4 separate regions of the Homo sapiens genome follow, and regions 2, 3 and 4 are each linked to region 1. The links are contacts of gene promoters, found by promoter capture Hi-C in human tissues and cell types (Jung and others, 2019). All regions are on one chromosome and are shown on one strand. Each heading gives the region's core, a stretch centred on a gene start or on the middle of the fragment in contact. The rest is flanking DNA. Distances are from core to core; before and after follow the strand shown. Region 1 has its middle 12 kb from the start of KCNN1. Region 2 holds the start of PIK3R2 (phosphoinositide-3-kinase regulatory subunit 2). Region 3 holds the start of B3GNT3 (UDP-GlcNAc:betaGal beta-1,3-N-acetylglucosaminyltransferase 3). Region 4 holds the start of IFI30 (IFI30 lysosomal thiol reductase).

Evidence for each region. The method cuts DNA at HindIII sites, captures the fragments that hold promoters and counts their contacts. A contact is called where the count stands out against the background at its distance.
Region 2: the fragment with the promoter of PIK3R2 here is called in contact with a fragment that was not itself captured in region 1 in 4 of the 25 tissues and cell types used here (dorsolateral prefrontal cortex, lymphoblastoid cells, pancreas and 1 more).
Region 3: a contact is called between the fragment with the promoter of B3GNT3 here and a fragment that was not itself captured in region 1, in 1 of the 25 tissues and cell types used here (IMR-90 fibroblasts).
Region 4: the fragment with the promoter of IFI30 here is called in contact with a fragment that was not itself captured in region 1 in 1 of the 25 tissues and cell types used here (dorsolateral prefrontal cortex).

What each region holds. Positions count from the first base shown.
Region 1 is chr19:17,953,781-17,956,480 of GRCh38, reverse strand. It overlaps a transcript of KCNN1 not described here. Among named protein-coding and RNA genes, the nearest start is that of KCNN1, 12 kb to the left of the region's middle. The HindIII fragment of the contact is 4,437 bases long and covers 1-2,700 here.
Region 2 is chr19:18,151,800-18,154,499 of GRCh38, reverse strand. PIK3R2 (phosphoinositide-3-kinase regulatory subunit 2) reads right to left here and starts at 1,337. Exons shown (of 16, transcript NM_005027.4): 1 at 1,206-1,337. RefSeq lists silencers at 467-686, 997-1,376 and enhancers at 1,487-1,766, 1,072-1,964, 2,507-2,586. The HindIII fragment of the contact is 11,749 bases long and covers 1-2,700 here.
Region 3 is chr19:17,793,860-17,796,559 of GRCh38, reverse strand. It overlaps B3GNT3 (UDP-GlcNAc:betaGal beta-1,3-N-acetylglucosaminyltransferase 3), which reads right to left and starts at 1,422. Exons shown (of 3, transcript NM_014256.4): 1 at 1,354-1,422. RefSeq lists enhancers at 829-1,526, 1,527-2,224. The HindIII fragment of the contact is 34,117 bases long and covers 1-2,700 here.
Region 4 is chr19:18,172,417-18,175,116 of GRCh38, reverse strand. It overlaps IFI30 (IFI30 lysosomal thiol reductase), which reads right to left and starts at 1,304. Exons shown (of 7, transcript NM_006332.5): 1 at 1,144-1,304; 2 at 1-77. The coding sequence starts at 1,275. RefSeq lists enhancers at 77-742, 870-939 and a silencer at 1,250-1,559. The HindIII fragment of the contact is 16,563 bases long and covers 1-2,700 here.

The DNA of each region.
Region 1 (2,700 bases), core at 174-2,673:
ATCAGCCACTGTATCCAGCACAAAACACTTAAGCTTAATTGATGCCCCATGAAATTCCACAAGGGCTGACCTGGGCTGGCCTTTGTCCTTATTGCATCCCAGCATCCAGCCTAGGGCCTGGCAGACAGTAGCTAGCTTGCTCAGTGTTTGTTGATTGACTAAATGACCACCACCTCTGTTTTCTCCACACCCCCATGGGCAGCTTAGTGCTGACCCTGGATGTCAGTCAGTGTTCACCAAGGAGGCCTGGCTCAGTGGCTCACGCCTGCAATCCCAGCACTTTGGGAGGCCAAGACAGGTGGATCACCTGAGGTCAGGAGTTCGAGACCAGCCCGGCCAACATGGGGAAACCCCATCTCTACTGAAAACACAAAAATTAGCTGTGCGTGGTGACGCATGCCTGTAATCCCAGCTACTTGGGAGGCTGAAGCAGGAGAATCGCTTGAACCCGGTGGGGTGGAGGGTGGAGGTTGCAGTGAGCCAAGATCATGCCACTGCGCTCCAGCCTGGGCGACAGAGTCAGACTCTGTCTCAAAACAAACAAACAAAACAAAACAAAACAAAACTAAAAAAAAAAAGTTCACTGGAGAAAGGAGCACAGGAGCTGCCTTCCACAGAGCTGGCCTACCCTGGGGGCTGTCTCCAGCGAGACCACGAGAGCCGGGAAGTAGAGGCTGTGTGTGGGGGGCGGGGGCGGGAGTGGTGGGACAGAGCTCTTCCAACCTGGCTCAACACCCCACTTCTAGGTCATCTGGCCTCTCTGAATAGTTTCCCCAACTCCAGTGATCAAAGAAAGTGGACAGTAACTCCCCGGAGGCTCTAGAAAGCATAGTCCTTGCTATCATCATCATGATATATATGATATAATAATAATTATATTATTATTTTTTTTCTTTCTTTCTTTTTTTTTTTTTTTTTGGAGATGGAGTTTCACTCTTGTTGCCCAGGCTGGAGTGCAATGGCACAATCTCGGCTCACTGCAACTTCCGCCTCCTGGGTTCAAGTGATTCTCCTGCCTTAGCCTCCCAAGTAGCTGGGATTACAGGCATGCAGCACCATGCCTGGCTAATTTTGTATTTTTAGTAGAGATGGGGGTTTCACCCTGTTGGCCAGGCTGGTCTCGAACTCCTGACCTCAGGTGATCTGCCTGCCTTGGCCTCCCAAAGTGCTGGGATTACAAGCGTAAGCCACCACGTCTGGCCTTTTTTCTTTTTTTTTTTTTTAATTAAAGAGATGGGGGTCTCGCTCTGTCGCCTAGGCTGGAGTGCAGTGGCCATTCACAAGCGTGATCATAGCTCACTGCAGCCTCGAACTCCTGGACTCGATACTCCCACCTTAGCCTTCCGAGTAGCTAGGACCACAGGTGCACGCCACTGTACCCAGCTTGTTATTATTTCAAAAGCTGGCACTTTTTCCTCAGGTCACCTTTTTTTTTTTTTTTTTGAAACAGAGCTTTGCTCTGTCGCCCAGGCTGGAGTGCAGTGGCGCGATCTTGGCTCACTGCAACCTCTGCCTCCCGGATTCAAGTGGTCCTCCTGCCTCAGCCTCCCAAGTAGCTAGGATTGCAGGTGCCCACCACCATCCCCGGGCAATTTTTGTATTTTTAGTAGACACGGGGTTTCGCCATGTCGGCCAAACTGGCCTCAAACTCCTGACCTCAAGTGATCCACCTGCCTCAGCCTCCCAAAGTGCTGGGATTACAGGCGTGAGCCACCTAGCCTGCCCAGTTACCAATTTTTCTATCCAACCCCTGAGCCACCCCCACCCCCAAAGGCGACCCAAGTCTGGGATTCACTCACCCTAGGGTGCAGGGGTCTCCTCGCCGAGCCACTGCAAAGGGGCTGTCCCCTTCAGTCCTGCTGGTGACCACTTGACTGGGAGAGAGGGTGGCTGCTGCTGCCTTTCCTGTCCCTTTGAGATCTGTAATGATCAGACAGGGGGTGCGGGGTGGAGGCGGGGACCCAAAAGAGTAGGGTGCAGACAGCTCCCGGACTACAGTGGTCTTTCTTATTTTTTATTTTTTTGAGACAGAGTCTTGCTCTGTCACCCAGGCTGGAGTGTAGTGATGTGATCTCAGCTCACTGCAACTGCCGCCTCCAGGGTTCAAACAATTCTCCTGCCTCAGCCTCCCAAGCATCTGGGATTACAGGTGCCTGCCACCATGCCCGGCTACTTTTTGTATTTTTAGTAGAGATGGGGTTTTGCTGTGTTGGCCAGGCTGGACTTGAACTCCTGGCCAGAGGTGATTCACCTGCTTCAGCCTATTACGTACAATGGTCTTTACAGCAGATCTGCGCTCTGGCTTGGTGTTGCTGAGCTGGGTCATCTCCTAAGCTTTCAGGAAGCTTAAGAACAGTGGCTTTATCACTCCAATGGGGCCCTGGGCTAGCCCCACCTCTTCCATGTCCCCTCCCTAAGGCCACTCCTCCTTTCACTGGGCTCCAGAAGCTAGACACTGAATGCTTTATCTGTCTTTCCCAATGCTGTTCCTGCTCACCCCCTCACATTGCCCCTAGTTCCTTCGCCATGGGGAGATCTAGGTGGGTGACATTCAGGGAGGTGACATTTTGTCACCCAGGCTGGAGTGCAGTCGCATGAACATGGCTCACTGCAGCCTTGACTTCCCGGGCTCAAGCGATCCTCCCACCTTCGGCCCCCAAGTAGCTTGGACTACAAGTGTGCACCACTACACCTGGCTAA
Region 2 (2,700 bases), core at 88-2,587, 200 kb before region 1:
GAGGTGAGTCCAAGCAAATGGACCTCCAGTCTCTGCAGAGGAGGAGTGAGTGGGCTGGCAGGTAGCTCCAGCCTGGGGCCCAGAGTAGGCACAAAATGCAGATGGGGAGGTGCTTAGAAGGAACCTTAGCCCCAGGCAGGGACAGGGAGCCAGGAGAAGGTGGGGGTACTGCAGCTGAGGAGGAGGGGAGGCTGCCGGCAGCAGGGCATTGATTATTCCCCAGGAGTCCCAGCCTGGGGAGGCGGAGATAGGCACACATTCCCAGCCTAGCCCTGCGGGTTCAGACGCCCTGTGATGGACAGGGCTAGGGTCGGGGGATGGACGTGCTGTTCTAGAGAATGGATCATCACAGCGGATAGGAAGGCGCGACAGGCAGACGGAACGGCACATGCAAAGCCTTGGCAGTGGGTTAAGTTGCTTGTCAAGGATTCAGGGTGGCTATAAGGATAGGTGCTATCCACCAAGAGGCCCGAGTGTCAGGTGGAGGCTCTGAGCATCCTTCAGTCACGGGGAACCCCAAGAGGTGTCCGAGCAGGGCGGAGGGGCGCCACATTCTCGGGTGCCCAATTTACCCATTCCTAGGCCTCTGTTACCCTCATTCTACAGGTGGGGAAACTGAGGCCCCGAGAGGGGATGCCCAGAAAACCGCCTGGATCTGCCTGCCAGCCCGCCCCCACGCCCCGGTGTGCGCGCCCCGGGAGCAGCGCTCCCCGAATCCGGGAGGCGGGAGGGGCGGGGCAGGCAGGGCTGGGGGCTCCGCGGGTGAAGGCAGGGCCTGAGCGCTCACACAGACGCGCACTTGGGTCTGCGTGGACCCGGCCACCCGGCTAGGGGACCGGAAGTGGGTTCGACCCCCGGCCCTCCCGCACCCCATTCTGCCCCGCACAATGCCTGGGCGCCCCTCGGTACTATTCGAAGCCCCATTCCAGGCAGGGCCTCCCTTCATTTGGGGCCTCGGCTCCAGTCCGGTATCTTGGACGCGGGGAGTCTCTCCCCATTCTGCCCCGACCGTCCCAAGGAGGCTGCACCGCTGCGGAGCCGAGCCCGAGGCCCCCCCTTGCCTGCGGCCCCCCCAGTTCCCGCGGGGCCCGACGCAGCCTGGCGCTTGCGTTCTGGCTTCCACCGGGGCCCGGCACTGCCCCCGGGCGCCCCGCATTTAAGCACACTCCCAGCCGCCCCCGCCACGAGGGCCAGTCAGGACTCACCTGGTCGCGGCCGCCACCGCCGCCGCAGCCGCCGTCACACCAAGCCAAGCCCGCCCCGTGGCTCCACCGCGGCCACCGTCGCCGCAGCCGCGGGATCCCCGCCTCCGCCGCCGCCACGGTTCCGAGCGGCCTGGCCCGCCCCCGGCGGAAATGCCCGAGCGCATTCGAGCCGGGCGGATGAACCGAGGCCGAGGCGGAGCCTGAGGTAAGGGGGCACCCGAGTGTTTCCGGAAGTAGCCGAACGTAATCCCGCGGGACTGGTGGACTAGAGGGTGCCCCCGAGACAGCCGAGCGTTTCCAGAGGTAGCCGAGTGCAATCGGGTCGGCGAGGGATCCGAGACTGGGCTCGGCTGGGCTTAGAGACGCCCGAGCGCTTTCGGAAATGGCCGAACACTCTCTACGGCCGCACTGGCACAACTGAGGCTGATCCCCAAGACCGCGGAGCGTTTCTGGAAATAACCGAATGTGCTCAGTGCCCAATGGAGGCCTTGGGAGTTTAGACCCAGAGGCGACCGCCAGCTTATGGGAATTACTGAAGCATAGATGGTTCCAGGGGACAAATGAGGCGTTCTCAAGCTCAGCAAACAGGGGGCAGTAGAGTGGGGAAAGGGCCTGCCGCAAAAAGCAGAAGTCGGAGAAAGCCAGGGTTGAAGGAGTTTCCATGGCAACCCAGAGCGTCCGGAAACAGCCAACGATCTCGACCCCTACGGGCACTAGAATTTAGCGGACTTGAGCCTAGATGCCGACGGTTTCCGGAAATAGCCGAACGCACTCGGAGATGGGGCTGTAGCCAAGAGTGTTTGCATGCCGGCTGAGCGCCCCGGAAGTAACGGATTGCTCTAGGGCTGGGCCGGGTTCGGCTAGAGGGAGTTTTATGGCAGAGCGCAAGCTAAGACCAGGATAGAAAGGACGCGACGATTGCTTATTTTGTTATTATTTTTTGAGACGGAGTTTCGCTCTTGTTGCCCAGGCTGGAGTGCAATGGCGCTATCTCGGCTCGCCGCAACCTCCACCTCCCGAGTTCAAGCGATTCTCCTGCCTCAGCCTCCCGAGCAGCTGGGATTACAGGCATGCGCCACCACGCCCGGCTAATTTTGTATTTTTAGTAGAGACGGGGTTTCTCCATGTTGGTCAGGGTGGTTTGGAACTCCCGACCTCAGGAGATCCGCCCGCCTTGGCCTTCCAAAGTGCTGGGATTACAGGCGTGAGCCACCGCGCCCCGCCGCTTATTTATTTTATTAACATAGCCCAGGGCGCCCAGGAGGTCGAGGCTGCAATGTGCCGTGATTGCGCCACTGTACTCCAACCTGGGTTACAGAGCGAGACCTTGTCTCAAAAACATAAAAATAAAAAACATAGCTCAGGGCCCAGATGTCTGGAGGAAGCTTTTAAAGGCAGGGCTATGATGGAGTACTCGCAGGGAGAGGGTAGCAGGAGGCTGGTACCAGCGATGGCATCAGGAAGAATCTCAACAGCGAACTGCTATGCAGTCCTC
Region 3 (2,700 bases), core at 173-2,672, 160 kb after region 1:
ACAGGCCAGTGGGAGGAAGTGATGGCCCCCAGGGCTGGCCCCAGACCTAGACGGCCAGGTGGCTTCCCATGGGCCCTGAATCCCAGATCTGGACTGCAGGAGTCCCCCGCCCAAGTTGAGGGGCGACCTCAGTTTCCTCTTGAGAAGTGTCCATTTAAAAAAATCAGAGCTGGGCATAGTGGCTCATGCCTGAAATCCCAGCACTTTCAGATGCCAAGGCAGGAGGATTGCTTGGGCCCAGGAGTTTGAGACCAGCCTGGACAACATAGTGAGACCCCGTCTCCACACACAAAAAAATTTTAAAATTAGCTGCCTGTGGTGTGCACCTGTAGTCCCAGCTACTCGGGAGGCTGAGGTGGGAGGATCACTTGAGCCCAGGAGGTTGAGGCTGCAGTGAATACAGTGCATGGAGCCACTGTACTCCAGCCTGGGTGACAAAGTGAGTCCCCCACCTCTACAAATAAAACAAACAAACAAAAAGTTTAAATCTGACCCAGAGGAAAAGATGGTCGGGATTCTTGGAACAGGAGTGAATCTGAACAGTGGCTACAGACATAATTAATATAATTATGATGACAGCTGACTGTCCCTGGGCACCCACTGAGTGGCCACAGCTCCTATCCACTCAACTCATCCTCGCCAAGGTCCCATGCCATGAGACCCCCCCTTAACACACAGGGAAACTGAGGCTCAGAGACCTAACGCCAGTCACGCAAGGGCCCCCAGTGGCCAGCAGTACACCTCATCACAAAAATTTCCTTTGACTAAACGCTTCGGGCATCCTCATCCCAGCTGGTTCATTGTTCCACCTCACGGAGGGGAAACTGAGGCCGGTTCAGCAATGTGTCCATGCCACGCAGCCAGGGCCCCTGGAATGCCGCCCAGCCACCTGGCAGGGCCTGCAGCACCGGAACCGCAGGGAGAGACTGGGGGTCACCTGCAGTTCCCAAACCCAACCGGGGACCCCAGCGCTGGCTTGCCCAGATACTCCCAACCAAGGGGCCAATAATCTCAACAACACAGGTAACAGTAACAGCCAAGTCTGACTAAGCGGCATCCGCCTCGGGGGTCTGATCCCGCCCAATCTGGGAGGGGCGCCGGGGTCCCGGGTCGCCAGCTGTGGGGGAGGCTTCCTCCCCGACCCAGGTCCGAGCTGGCCTTGGGAACGCCGGAGACAATTACGGATGGGTGAGGGCAACCGGGTTCTCGAGACTCGGGGCTCCCGAATGTTCCCACATCTGCAGGGTATGCGCGGTGGAGACCGGCAGGGGCTTCTCCAGAGCCACAACTTCCCCACCCCCAAACCCCCACCACTGGGGTCCGCCAGATCCTCCGGGGGCTGCCGACACTCACCCCCAGACGACAGTCCCGCCTCTGCCCCTCTACCTGCTCCTCTCAGCTCGCGAGCCGAAGAAAGAGTTTTTACCTGAGCCAGAGCTCCCGCCCCTCTCCCGCTTCCTCCCTCCCACCGGGCCTCACGCCTTCCTGCCTCCCTCCGCCTTGGCCGCTTGCCAGTCCCCCTCTTCCCAGCTCGGCTGAGTTTCCTGGTGGCCCAGGCGAAGTTCTCTGCCGGCTCCTCCCTCCCCGGCCATGCCTCTTCCCCTCTCCGGTCCCGGCTGCCACCTCTGCCATCCCGCTCTTGCCACCCTCGCCCCTCTCGGGGCTCACGACCCCACCTTGGGTCTGGCCCGCTGCTAGGGAATGAGCTCCCCGTGGCTGGAGATGAACAAGCAGCGCCTTGCGGGTTCCTGGCACAGAGCCCGGTCAGCGTTGGCCCACGTGTGTTCCGTGAAGAAATGATTGGATAAGCCCATGGCGATAAGGAGGGAGGGAGGCAGGTTAAACCTTGCGGCACCTCTGCTCTCTGCGGGGAGTTCAAAGATTCCTGAAGCTGGGGTCGGCGCAGTGGCTCACTCCTGTACTTCCAGAGGCCGAGGGGGGCGGATCGCTGGAACCCAGGAGTTTGAGACCAGCCTGGGCAACATAGTGAGATTCCATCTCTATATTGAAAATAATTCCAGGACCCGAAAACCTACGATGTGCCCCCAGACATCCAGATGCCACCTGCTGGCATTTGGAAGGGTTCTGGAAGTCAACAATCAGACAGATTTGTAGTCTTTTCTTTTTCTTTTTTTCTTGTTTTGAGAGACAGGATCTCGCTTTGTCACCCAGGCTAGAGTACAGTGGTGTGATCTCCGCTCGCTACAATGTCGACCTCCCCAGTTCAAGCAATCCTCCCACCTCAGCCTCCCGAGTAGCTGGGACTACAGGCACCCGCCAGCATGCCTGGCTAATTTTTGTCATTTTTCTAGATATGGGGTTTTGATATGTTGCCCAGGCTGGTCTTAACTGTGGGCCTCAAGTGACCTTCCTGCCTCAGATCCCCAAGGTGCTGGATTATAGATGTGAGCCACTGCACCTGGCCTCAGATTTGTAGATTTTTAGGGTTGGGTTGGCTAGGATTCGAACCCTGCCCTGTGCTGCCTCTGAATCTCTAGGAGATTCTAGCCTGGACCCAGCGTTGGGAGCTCTGGGGTTGGGGAAGTCCAGGTGTGTGAGCTGGGCTATGGTTTCAGGAAACCCCTCCTTCCTCCTTCATCCCTGTTTCTTCCCGAGGAGGAAGCCGAGGTGTATATGTGGCCTGTCTGTGCCTCAGTTTCCTCACCTGTAAAATGTAAGAAATAGCCCCTGGGTACTCTG
Region 4 (2,700 bases), core at 55-2,554, 220 kb before region 1:
GCTTCATAGTAGAGGGTCACATTGACAAGCGGTGCATTGGACTTCTTCAGGGGCCCCCGCAGGTATAGATTGCCTGTCTGTGGATTAGGAAGGCGTGGGAGGCAGGTGTAGCCCTGGGCAGTTCCCCACTTCTCTCAACCCCACTTGGTAGTCTTGTAGAAAGGGGGCTGTGATACGCAATTCATCTTGCACGCCTTCCAGAACTTGCCAGGTGGAATCTTGACTTTGAGACTTTTTTTTTTTTTTTTGAGATGGAGTCTCACTGTCGCTAGGCTGGTGTGCTGCGGCACGATCTCGGCTCACTGCAACACCCGACTCCCTGGTTCAAGCAATTGTCCTGCCTCAGCCTCCTGAGTAGCTGGGATTATAGGCACATGCCACCACACCCAGCTAATTTTTGTATTTTTAGTAGAGACAGGGTTTCTCCATGTAGGCCAGAATGGTCTCGAACTCCTGACCTCGTGATCTGCCTGCCTCAGACTTCCAAAGTGTTGGGATTACAGGCATGAGCCACCGCCTCCGGCCTTGGCCCATGCTCATTTCTTGTCACTTCACCTGGAGACCTTGCCTCTGAGCTGAGCAAGGGATCCACGTGAACCCTTTCCAAGTCCGACTGAATAGAGGCGGCACCTAATAGGTGCTGACTTCCGGCTTCAGCTGAGGGGTGGCGGGTGGCCCATGTCGCTGGAGCGGTGAGCAAGTCGCTCAGCCTCTAGGGCATCTGCCTAATAGGTCCCAAAGACACGCGAGCCCTGCCCTGGCTGGAATGAATGCATCAAGGGTAGCAGCAAGAATGCATGCCGGCGGCCCTTGGCCAGCTGCTGAACTTGTGCCCTGGGCCACAAAAGGAGACCCCAGCTCCTGCCCCAAAAGTACACAGTAGGCGCTCATTGAACCCTTGGGCGGGACTAGGCGGGTGGAGGCAGCTGCGCCTCTCAGATGCGGGATGCGAAAGCGAAACGGCACGGAGGGAGTGTGGCCGCAGCGCCGGGAACTGAACAGGGTTTTTCCAGGAACCCGGCAGGGACAGCGTCCCCTCGGGGCCCTGGTCTTCCCCTGTGAAGTCTGGGGAGAAAGAAGGAGCCGCGTGCCCCGACAGGGCGCCTGTTCCCTCCAGCCTGCCCGCCCTGTCGCCGTCCCTACCTTGTAGTTAACTGGTGGCCCATTCCCAAAGAAGTCTAACGCTTGCAGAGGGGACGCCTGCACCGCCGCCGTGGGGACGTCCAGCAGCAGCAGCAGCGGTGGCAGGAACAGCAGAAGTGGCGACAGGGTCATCGCAGCAGGGGCAAAGGTGTGGCGACTGCAGCGGCTGCCTGGGAAATAAGCGCCTTTAACCAGGCGGCGGTCCCGCCCCTAACCCGGGCCCGCCTCCCGATGCCCACGCCCCTCGGGTCCCGGGCCAGCGTCTCTCCCTCCTCCACTCCTTCCTCTGAGTGTCCCACCCCCACCCCTGCCAGGTGCTGGGTCCCCAGTCACGAGGCCATTGGGCCCCTTGGCAATCAGCCCTGCCCAGGCACGTGAGCCCTGGCGCAAGACTACCTTTAGGGGAGGTGAGGTGGGGCCTTTGAGACAGACACAGGCTGAGAGGAATGGTGGTGTCTCCACGCACCCCTAGACCTTCTAGGGGCGGCTAGGGGACTTGAGGCCCGAGACCCACTCTCAGAGTGGGCCTGTGACCTAACAGGGGTGACGTCGGATGGAGGCTGGGGATGGGATGGAGGCCGGGGTTTTGGGGGAGTAACTGAAATATTCAGGCCCCCGAGAGTGGGCAAGGCCTGTGTGGCCAGGTCTCCTCCCTCCAGTCTCGCCCGTGACCTCCCTCACACCCAACCCCCACATCCTGCCCCTCAACCCTTCCCCCCTCAAACTCCTGACCCCGACGCTCCAGACCCCTCACCGTGGTCCCGTGGGACTGACTCAGGCTTGACCACAGCCACGCCGGAAAGCAGAAGCTGGCGCAGGGAGTGGCGTGTCATTTCTCTAGGGTACCCACCCAGCCCCACTTCTGGCTTGGGGTGAAGAGAACTGGCCTTCCTTCTTTTCATCGTTCAAGGCTTGTGGGGGGTGGGGGGCAACCTGGCCTTCAAGGGACGCCCATGGGGGAGAGAGGCAGCCTGTGCTGTCTGGGATAGGGGTGGGGTGGCTTGGAGTCCACCTGGCTTTGGATTTGAGTGACAGAGCCTCAGCTTTCCCTTCTGTGTAATGGGGAGAAGGATAAGGTTTGGGGAACAAGAGTCACCATGGAGGGCTCAGAGGCAGGTGGGGGAGAGTTGTCCCAGGCTGGGGCTTCTGGATGGCATGGTCAGGCCTTGGTGCCTACACAGGACAGTGGCCCCAACAGTGAAGGCAGAGAGAATAGCCTGGAAAAAAGGCCCAGATGGAGGCTGGAGTGTTGGGGGAATAACTGAGACATTCCAACCCTGCCAGGCCTTACATTCAGGGCAAGACACATCGGATCCTAGGGAAGAAAATGTCCCACACCCAGCTGGAAGATATACCTGAGTCCCCAGCTGTGCCCCCCTCTAGTTGTGGGGAAGACCCTGGCCACACACACAGTAGCTGGTTTGGGAGCCGGAGCTTCTCTGAAGTCCCAGTGGCTGGATGGTCCCCGAGCCCATCCCTCAGACGACCAAACCGTTGGCAAAGGCTCCCCAAGACTCACCACCCCAACTTTGGTGCTTACCCTATGCCGGGTGGGAT